Linked DNA regions of Homo sapiens: region 1 is linked to region 2. The links are contacts of gene promoters, found by promoter capture Hi-C in human tissues and cell types (Jung and others, 2019). All regions are on one chromosome and are shown on one strand. Each heading gives the region's core, a stretch centred on a gene start or on the middle of the fragment in contact. The rest is flanking DNA. Distances are from core to core; before and after follow the strand shown. Region 1 overlaps RIMS1 (regulating synaptic membrane exocytosis 1). Region 2 holds the start of DDX43 (DEAD-box helicase 43).

What was found. The method cuts DNA at HindIII sites, captures the fragments that hold promoters and counts their contacts. A contact is called where the count stands out against the background at its distance.
Region 1: a fragment that was not itself captured here is called in contact with the fragment with the promoter of DDX43 in region 2 in 1 of the 25 tissues and cell types used here (lymphoblastoid cells).

What each region holds. Positions count from the first base shown.
Region 1 is chr6:72,076,399-72,080,847 of GRCh38, reverse strand. The region is part of intron 2 of RIMS1 (regulating synaptic membrane exocytosis 1); the gene reads right to left. Among named protein-coding and RNA genes, the nearest start is that of RIMS1, 190 kb to the right of the region's middle. The HindIII fragment of the contact is 3,441 bases long and covers 500-3,940 here.
Region 2 is chr6:73,393,413-73,398,086 of GRCh38, reverse strand. It overlaps DDX43 (DEAD-box helicase 43), which reads right to left and starts at 3,259. Exons shown (of 17, transcript NM_018665.3): 1 at 2,932-3,259; 2 at 343-398. The coding sequence starts at 3,181. LOC124901538 (small nucleolar RNA U13) reads left to right here and starts at 4,074; the gene lies at 4,074-4,174. It also overlaps a transcript of OOEP not described here. RefSeq lists an enhancer at 3,142-3,642. The HindIII fragment of the contact is 17,001 bases long and covers 1-4,674 here.

The sequences.
Region 1 (4,449 bases), core at 971-3,470, 1.3 Mb after region 2:
TGTAAGTAAGGTAGTTAGAGAAGGCTTCACCAAAAGGTGAAATTTGAGCAAAGACCTGAAGGAGGTGAGGGAGCACATTACAGAGAGAGGGGCTTGGCAGAGGATGCAGCAAGTGTGAAAGGCCTGAGGTGGGAGCCCACCTGGTGAGGCTGAGGCAAAGTGGCTGGGCCCCTGTGGTAGGAATGGACTGAGCAAGGGCAGAGGAGGAAGAGGGTACACAGGTTATGTGAGCTTTCTTCATCATCATCGGGATTTGGCTTTTACTCTGGGTGAATGGGAAGCCATTGGAAGAGTCTGAGCAGAGGAATCAGATAACTGGACTTACATTTTCATACGCTCCCTCTGGCTCCTATGTTTGTAATAGAAGACAGCAAGGAGGAAAGCTGAGACTCCAGTCAGGAGGCCTGGCAATAATCCAGCTTACAGACAATGGAAGTCTGGACCATAGCTCTGATAGTGGAGGTGGGGAGTGTTCAGTTACATCTTCCTTCTACCTTGCTTTAACTCTCCCAGAGTCTGTGCAGGTAGGCACATTTTATGTTCATGACTGTTATGTACTTTGTTTTGTATTTTATTTTATTTTTGAGATGGAGTCGCGCTGTGTTGCCCAGGCTGGAGTGCAGTGGCATGATCTCGGCTCACTGCAACCTCTGCCTCCCGGGTTCCAGCGATTCTCCTGCCTCAGCCTCCCAAGTAGCTGGGATTACAGGCATCTGCCACCATGCCTGGCTAATTTCTGTATTTTTTTTTTTTTTTTTTTTTTTTTTTTTTTTAGTAGAGACACGGTTTCACCACGTTGGCCAGGCTGGTCTTGAACTCCTGACCTCAAGTGATCCACCTGCCTCAGCCTCCCAAAGTGTTGGCATTACAGGAATGAGCCACCGTGCTCAGCCCGTTTTGTTTTTTAAAAAAACGATTGTCAGGTTGCATTTTTCTATTTTATTTTATTGATTGATTGAATTTTGAGACAGAGTCTCTGTCTGTCACCCAGGCTGGAGTGCAGTGACACAATCACAGCTCACTGTAGCCTCAATCGCCTGGCTCAGGCAATCCTCCCATGTCAGCCTCCCAAGTAGCTGGGACTACAAGCACGCCCCACCATGCCTGGCTAATTTTTAAATTTTTTTGTAGATACAGGGTCTCACTATGTTATCCAGGCTGGTCTCCAACTCCTGGGTTCAACTGATCCTCCTGCCTTGGCCTCCTAAAATGCTGGGATTACAGGCATGAGCCACCTCACCCAGCTGTATTTTTCTGCTTCATACTGTGCATGTTTTCTCAGCATCAAAGACAATTATTGCCAAATCACATCAAGTGAAGGGTGTTCAACTTTCTGAGCCTGAGTGACATCAAAGAAAACTGTGTCTCATAATTGGAAGAGGGTGCAGAAGTATGATAATATATTATCTCATAGTTAAAAAATCCATATTTATTTGACACTCTATTGGCATCATGAATGAAGTATCCACCTGACACCTACCCAGCATCTGAAACCTGGCAATCACTATAACATGAAGGTAGACCCTGCTTGATACATCAAACAGCTTAAAAGTTCCCAGAAATTTTAATTATTTTATATGTGCTATTAATATTGTGTAAGGAATCTGAATACACAGTAATCCCACATCTGGAAATCTTATGTAAGTAGTGTTCCTTCAACCTCTTTTTGTTTCTTCTTGCTTCAGTGCTAAGCCCCAGTGGTCATACCTTTTTAGTCCATGTACAAATCAAGGTAGAGGTTATATTAAATGGTTATTAGAATGCAGGCTCTATGAAGGAATAAAAACAGCTCCAACTCTTAGGGCTTTTTAAATCATCTTTTTCTGTTTGTTTTGTAATAGATTCCACCTTTTCTTAGGAAGTTATACAAACGTGAACTGTGATGTGATAAAGTTAACTTCCTCAAATATGTTAAATGCTTAGTATGTATAGTGTTTGGGTGTATCTGTGTGTATGTGTGTATAGATATATATACACATATAAATATATAAAAAAACTTTGTTAGATGATCCAGGATACTGCAGAGCCTCAAGGTCTTCCATTTAATATGAGTTCTCATTGTGCTATGCTATAAATTTAGATATGGAAAGTAGGCATGTATAATTGGTTCAGATGCTGAGAAAATGCTCCTTTAAATAAAGGAGCATTGTTTTTGTTTGCTTGTTTTTTTGTGTTTGTTTTTGCTTCTCCTAAGTCTAGGAGAAAGCTTCTACCTAATGAAGCAAACAGGTAGTGAACTAAAGATAGGTTTGGTATAGCAACCTGTCTCAACTTCCGATATAGGCACTAGTCTCTGCATAGTAAGCTCTGGGCATGGCTGCTGCAGCCACTACCAGTTTTGTAAGGATAAGTATCCTTGCCAATATAACAAGAAAATATTTCACAGAAAAAAGGGAACTTGCAAGGAAGATAATACATGAAGTATTAGGGAATAGAACTGGAAGGAAAGAGAGAGAAATAGGGAGAGCTCAGATTAACTACAGGCAAAGAGTGAGGTAACATTTCATAGTAATTACTTGCATCTAAAACCTGGTGTGTACAGTATGTCTCCTGCCTAAAAATAATTTAAACAGCCTGGCTAAGAGCACCGCTAATTTGTCACTGTGTGCAACCTGCTGCTCACCTTTCTATAGTATCTGTGTGAAAAGGCATTTTAAATCCTACTATAACCACATAATCCAAACATCACCAAATGATCAGATTGCAAGCTTCATTTAGAAATGCTCTCAAGTCTAAGGATACATGGATTATTATAGTTTTTAACAGATTGCTTTCAAAACCCAAAGATTTCTGGGTTTTGTTTTAGCTTTAAATACCATCATAGTAAACAAAAGCGTAGAGGCATGAGGCAAGGGGGGATTGTGTTATAAATTTTAGAAAATTTCACTATCATCTAAAGTGAAGCTATCCCCTTTCTTTTACTCCTAGGTTAATGAAAGCCCAGAAAAGGGTTTCGTCGAATGTCCATGGTCAGCATCCCCTAAGTAAGGGCATTATTACCAGATACAAGCCAGGGCTGGAACAAAGGCTCTGCCAGTGATTTGCTGAGTGATCATGAATAAGTGAATTAGTCCATCTAAGCTTTATTTCCCTCATCTGTAAATTGAGGGTAGTAACTGTACCTCTTAGGACTTTAGAGAATGTTGGTGTAATATCTGACACAGCTTTAATGCTTAGTAGATCTCAGTTCTCTTTCACCACTTTCAACTTTCAGAGGAGTGTGTTTTGCTCCTTATTCTGTTTCTACAGAAAAGGGTAGGAGAGAGGAATGGAAAGACCAATAAAGTAAGAAGACCTAAGTGTGAGTTGTGGTTTTGTCTCTTACATCCCGGACAACTTTGGACATAGCCCCTTAGCACTTCTGAACTGGGATTCTTTCTGTCTCTTAAGAGTGATACATTCATAAATTCAACACATAATAATTGATCATCTACTGCATACCAGGTGCTTTTGAGGCACTGGTGATATAAACATGAACAAAACTAAGTCCTTGTTCACAGAAAACTTGTAGGTAACTAAGAGAGGCAGGTGATAAATCAGATTAACAAAAGAACATGGAGAAATAGCAGGTAGCTTTAATAGCTAGGAAGACAAATAAAAGAGAGAAACATACAGACACGCCCCTGGCTAGGGGTAGGACATGGCTACATAGACAGGATTGTCAGGGAAGCCTGAGTGAGGAGTGGGATCCTGAAGGACGAGGAGAAACACGCCTTCCACTCATGTGGGGAAGAGGATTCCAGGCAGATGGAGCAGCCCGTGCAAAGGCTGGACAGGAAAGAGCTTGGGTCAGGGCAGACGAGGCAGAGTGGAGTGGGGATTGGAGATAAGGTCAGTTACATGAAGTCAAGAAGGCCTTGAGAACCATGGAGGGAATTTTTTATTTTCTTCTAAGCGGAATGGGAGGTCACTGAAGGACTTTTATTGACAAATTTATGTGATGGGACAGAGAATTGAAAGAATCCCTTTGTTTTTCCCAGGGAAACCAGACCATAAGCAAGGCAGTCCAGGAGAGAGGCAAGCCACATGGTTCTTTGAAAGAGTGCTTATGCTGGAGGTAGTAAGGAAAAGTCAAGCTGAGGATTTTTTTAAGCCCTCACACCAATGTAAAATATTATTTCAGTGCAGAAAATTATTTCCCAGGATAGCATCATCCCTGGAAGTCTCTGGAGCGCACTTTATTTTTAACCACTTACTAGCTCTGTAACACTAAATAAATTACTCTACCTCCTTTAACCCTCAGTGTTATCGACTGAATATTCAAATGTTAAATTGAACCCAGAATTCAAATATTAAAACCCTACCCCTCAGTGGAGGAGTCATATTTGGAGGTGGAGCATTTGAAAGGTAATTAGGTGGAGATGAGGCCATATGGGTGGGGCTCTCAAGGTGGGATGAGTGTCCATATAATACTTGGAAGAGAAACCAGAACCCTCTCCCTCTCTCCAC
Region 2 (4,674 bases), core at 2,010-4,509:
GTAATCCCAACACTTTGGGAGGCCAAGGCAAGTGGATCACTTGAGGCCAGGAGTTGAGAGCAGCCTGGCCAACACGGTAAAACCCCGTCTCTACTAAAAATAAAAAAATAAAATAAAATAAATTAGCTGGGCTTGGTGGTGGGAACCCGTAATTCCAGCTACTCAGGAGGCTGAAGCAGGAGAATTGCTTGAACCCAGGAGGCAGAGGTTGTACTGATATCACGTCACTGCACTCCAGCCTGGGAGACAGAATGAGGCTGTCTTAAAAAGAAAAGTAGAGTTAGGTGCTCCCTTAGAAATGCATGATGCTCTCTTAAGGGCCGAAAAACACAGATGGCTTACTTGGATTGTGGTGTTTGTTGTACTTTGTATATTCTTTATTTTTGACCCACCACGACCTGTTTTTAAAAATAAAGGAATATATTGTTATAAGTTGAAATTAGTAAGTTGAAAATTTACCCATTTTCCTCAACAAACATTCTCTAGTTCTTCCCCCCAAATGCTCCTAGGGTTCAACAATCATTTTTTGTTTGGAAAGAGGGAAGTAAGAGGTTCTATTCCAAATTTTGGTGGGTTTTAGGAGACTCTTATCCCAGACAGGTGGAGACTATGGATTCTGTATCAGCTTGCACAAAACTTAATTGGGTCCAAACTGGTGGAGAGGATGTAGAAATTGGAACTCTTTCATACAACTCAACAAATAAGTTTTGAAAAATGGGCAAACACTTGAATAGACATTTCTCCAATGACATACAAATGGCCAACAGGCATGAGATGTTCAACATCACTAATCAGGTCCACGCAAATCGAAACCACAAAATGATTGTCACCTCACATCTGGTAGGATGACCATTATCAAAAACAGAAAAAAAGTGTTGGTAAGAATGTGGAGAAATTGGAACCCCTGTGTACTGTTGGTGGGATTGAAAATGGTGCTGCCACTATGGAAAACAGTATAGATTAACTAAAAAATTAAAAACAGAATTAACATATGATCCAGCAGTCTCACTTGGGGTATACATCCAAAAGAATTTAAAGCTGAGTCTCAAAGATATATTGCACTTCCATTTTCATAATAACACTACTGAAATCAAAAGGTGGAAGCTACCCATTTATCATAGACTGATTAATAGATAAAGTAAGGTATATACTTAATAATGGAATACCATTCAGCCTTAGTAAGGAAAAAAATCCTGTCTCATGCTACAAAATGGGTAAGCCTGGAGGATATTATTCTTAGAGAAATGAGCCAATTACAAAGACAATTACTGCATGATTCTACTTATATGGATTACCTAAAGTAATCTAACTCAGAAACAATGTAAATGGTGGGTCCCTGGGATGGGGCAGGAAAAAATGGGGAGCTGTTCAATGAGTATACAGTTTTAGTCATGCAAGTTCCAGAGATCTGGGATACAACATTGTGCTTATTATTAGTATTGTGATATACGTTTAAAAGAGGGTATTTCATTTTTTACAATAAAAAAGATGGATCCAGATCCAACATCAAGTGAGTGCTCTGTAGCACAGTGCCCTTTCATCTGCTAAGTATTAACTTAAGTGATTTTTATTGCAAACCTAGTGGCTTTCTTTCTTGGAGCATCATTCTTCAGATCTGAGCCCAAGCCTTCTGAAAGGCCAATGAGTCTCTGGGTAGTACAGCAATTAGTCTTACAATGCACTATTTTGTAGCAGCCTCCATCTATTCATTTTTCTCAGGTTTTAAAAAGGGTGAAATACACCTAATAGGTAAAATGTGGCAATTTATACTCGGGCTTAATGGCAATCAATGGGGTAATCATTCTAATCATTTTTAAATGCTTTTCAAAAAAATTCAGAAATGGGCCGGGCTTACGCCTGTAATCTCAGCACTTTGGGAGGCCGAGGTGGGTGGATCCACAGGAGTTCGAGACCATCCTGGGTAATATGGTGAAACCTCATCTTTACTAAAAACACAAAAATTAGCCAGGTGTGGTGGCGCACGTAATTTCAGCTACTAGGGAGGCTGAGGTGCTAGAATCGCTTGAGCCCGGGAGGTGGAAGTTGTAGTGAGCCGAGATCACGCCACACTGCACTCCAGCTGGGGCCACAGAGCTGCCTCAAAAAAAAAAAAAATCAAAAGAAAGAAAAAAATTAAAAATTCAGAATTGAATGTTAACACTCAAGATGTAGTAAGAAAAGTTTTTAACTTTTTAAAAATTAAGGAAACTAAAAGCAAGATACAACTGCTCTAGGCAGCCCTACAATGACCTTATAGCTTTTCTTTGATTTCTGGCTCTAAATGGTACTCATAGAAAGACTGATTAAGTTTTGTTTTTCATTCTGGGGTTAGCTGTCTGTTAAAAGGCCTGTTCTAAGCATCCCTCTTCAGCCCTAAGATTTCATAAGTCTTCTAGGAGTTGCTCTCCCAAATACATTGTCTGTATAAACACCAAAAGGTGGATTAAATTACTTTTTTTTTTTTTTTTTAATTGAGACGGAGTCTTGCTCTGTCACCTAGGCTGGAGTGCAGTGGCGCGATCTCAGCTCACTGCCAACTTCTGCCGCCGGGTTCAAGCCATTCTCCTGCCTCAGCCTCCGGAGTATCTGGGATTACAGGCGCGCGCCACCACGCCCAGCTATTTTTTTTAATATATATATTTTTAGTAGAGACAGGGTTTTGCCATGTTGGCCAAGCTGGTCTCGAATTCCTGACCTGGGGTGATCCGCCCGCCTCGGCCTCCCAAAATACTGGGATTACAGGCGTGAGCCAACGCGCCCGGCCAGATTAAATTATACTCTATCCCCAGGTTTTACAAATAGCTCTGGGAGAGACCTGAACCTCACTAGGTGGCAGCTGATTGGAGGTGAGGCAGTGGGGAGGAAATGCCTTCGCCCAGGCTCCGCCCCTGGCCCCACCTATCCTGCCCTGCCAGCCACTCCCATTCTCACCGATTACCGCGCCAACAAAGTGGCTCTTCAAAGCAAAACACAGCGGCAGTTCCTCGTGACCAGCGGCCACGGCCTCCGGGGGCCTAGAGGTGCCTCTCCAGCGACCACCTCTGCCGACACTATATCCCTCAGGACCTGTTCGATTCAACTCCTCCGCCGGCCTCCTCTCTGGCGCTCGGGACACTGTCGAGCTTCGCCGACTAGCAACGACCCACGTAGAGGCCTTGGGAGCTCCTCCGTGGTGGGACATTGTTCCAAGAAGGGGCGCGTCCGACGTCGTTGCCGTCCAGCTCTGCACCACCTGACCGTGACGTCGTAAGAGTAGCGTGCCAGGGAAGCCACGCAGCCGCTACTTAAGGAGCCCGCACGAGGCTAGCCCCCCCGCCCACGCTCTCTATCCCGCCCACTTCGCACTGATTTCACGCAGCCATTGGCCAGTGAGCGTTGTGGGCGGGACTTTCCCAGTTTTAGCCAATCGGTTTTCTGAACCGTGGGAGTGTGCCTTGAAGTAGTCGATGTGCCCCGCCCCCCACCCCCCCACTGTGTATTCCTTTCCAGGCGTGGGACTTTTTCCAAACGCCCAATTTGCTCCCTCCCCTACTGGACACACACCTCGGGTTCCTGGCATCTCAGTGCCTTGGAAACTTTTTTTTTTCTTTTTAAATAGAGACGGGGTGTCGCCGTGTTGCCCAGGCAGGTCTTGAACTCTTGGCTTCTGGCTTCAAGTGATCTTCCAGCCTCGGCCTCCCAAAGTGCTGGGATTACAGTCAGCCACTGCACCGGAAATGTTTTCAACCGTGACCCATAAAGGTAAGTCACTGTTACAAGGTGACCCAATCCACACATAAAAAACTTGAAACAACAGATTGACAAAACAGCATTTATCCTCGCTATGTAAGCTGCATTTTGATACATTTACGCTTATTTTAGTTTTTGAAATGGTTGTAATCCACAAAATTAAAAAAAAAAAATTTAATAGAGATGGGAGTTCCCAGTATGTTGCCCAAGGCTGGTCTTGAACTCCTGGACTCAAGTGATCCTCCCACCTCCACCTCCCATAGTGCTGGGGTTACAGGCCTGAGCCACTGCACTCGGCTCACAAAATGTATTTAATGGCCCACAGCTTAAAGATCACTGACTTGATCCTTTTGTAAGTCATAAGTGTGATTGGGTTTTCATGCTCTTGTGTCAAATGTGCCTCCCTCAAACCTTGTTACGAAGTGGGCACACTACCCACCTGATGTGAAAAATGAAGAGAAAAAGATCACTGGCTTGAGAGACATTCATTGCTCTACACAGTCTTCTGGATGTTTGCTATGTTTTTTTTGTTTGTTTTCTTTTGTTTTGTTTTTGACCTCTGTCGCCTAGGCTGGAGTGCAGTGGTGCGATCACTCACTGCAGATTCGACCTGTTGGACTCAAGTGATACTCCCACCACAGCCTCCCGAATAGTTGGGACTACAGGTGTGCACCACCATGCCAGGCTAATTATTTTGTAAAGACAAGACCTCCCTATGTTGCCCGGGCTGGTATCCAACTCCTCCTGCCTTGGCCTCACACAGTTGAGGGATTACAGGTATGAGCCACAGTGCCTGGCCTGCCATAATTTTAGAGCTAAGGAAATAAATTGAATAGATTCCTGAAGCATTACCGTCACTGCAGCCTGGCTCTGTGGCTGGACATACTACTACTCCAGGGCTTCAAGCCAGCTGCAAGTGCACTCCTTTGATTAGGATCTTTGAAT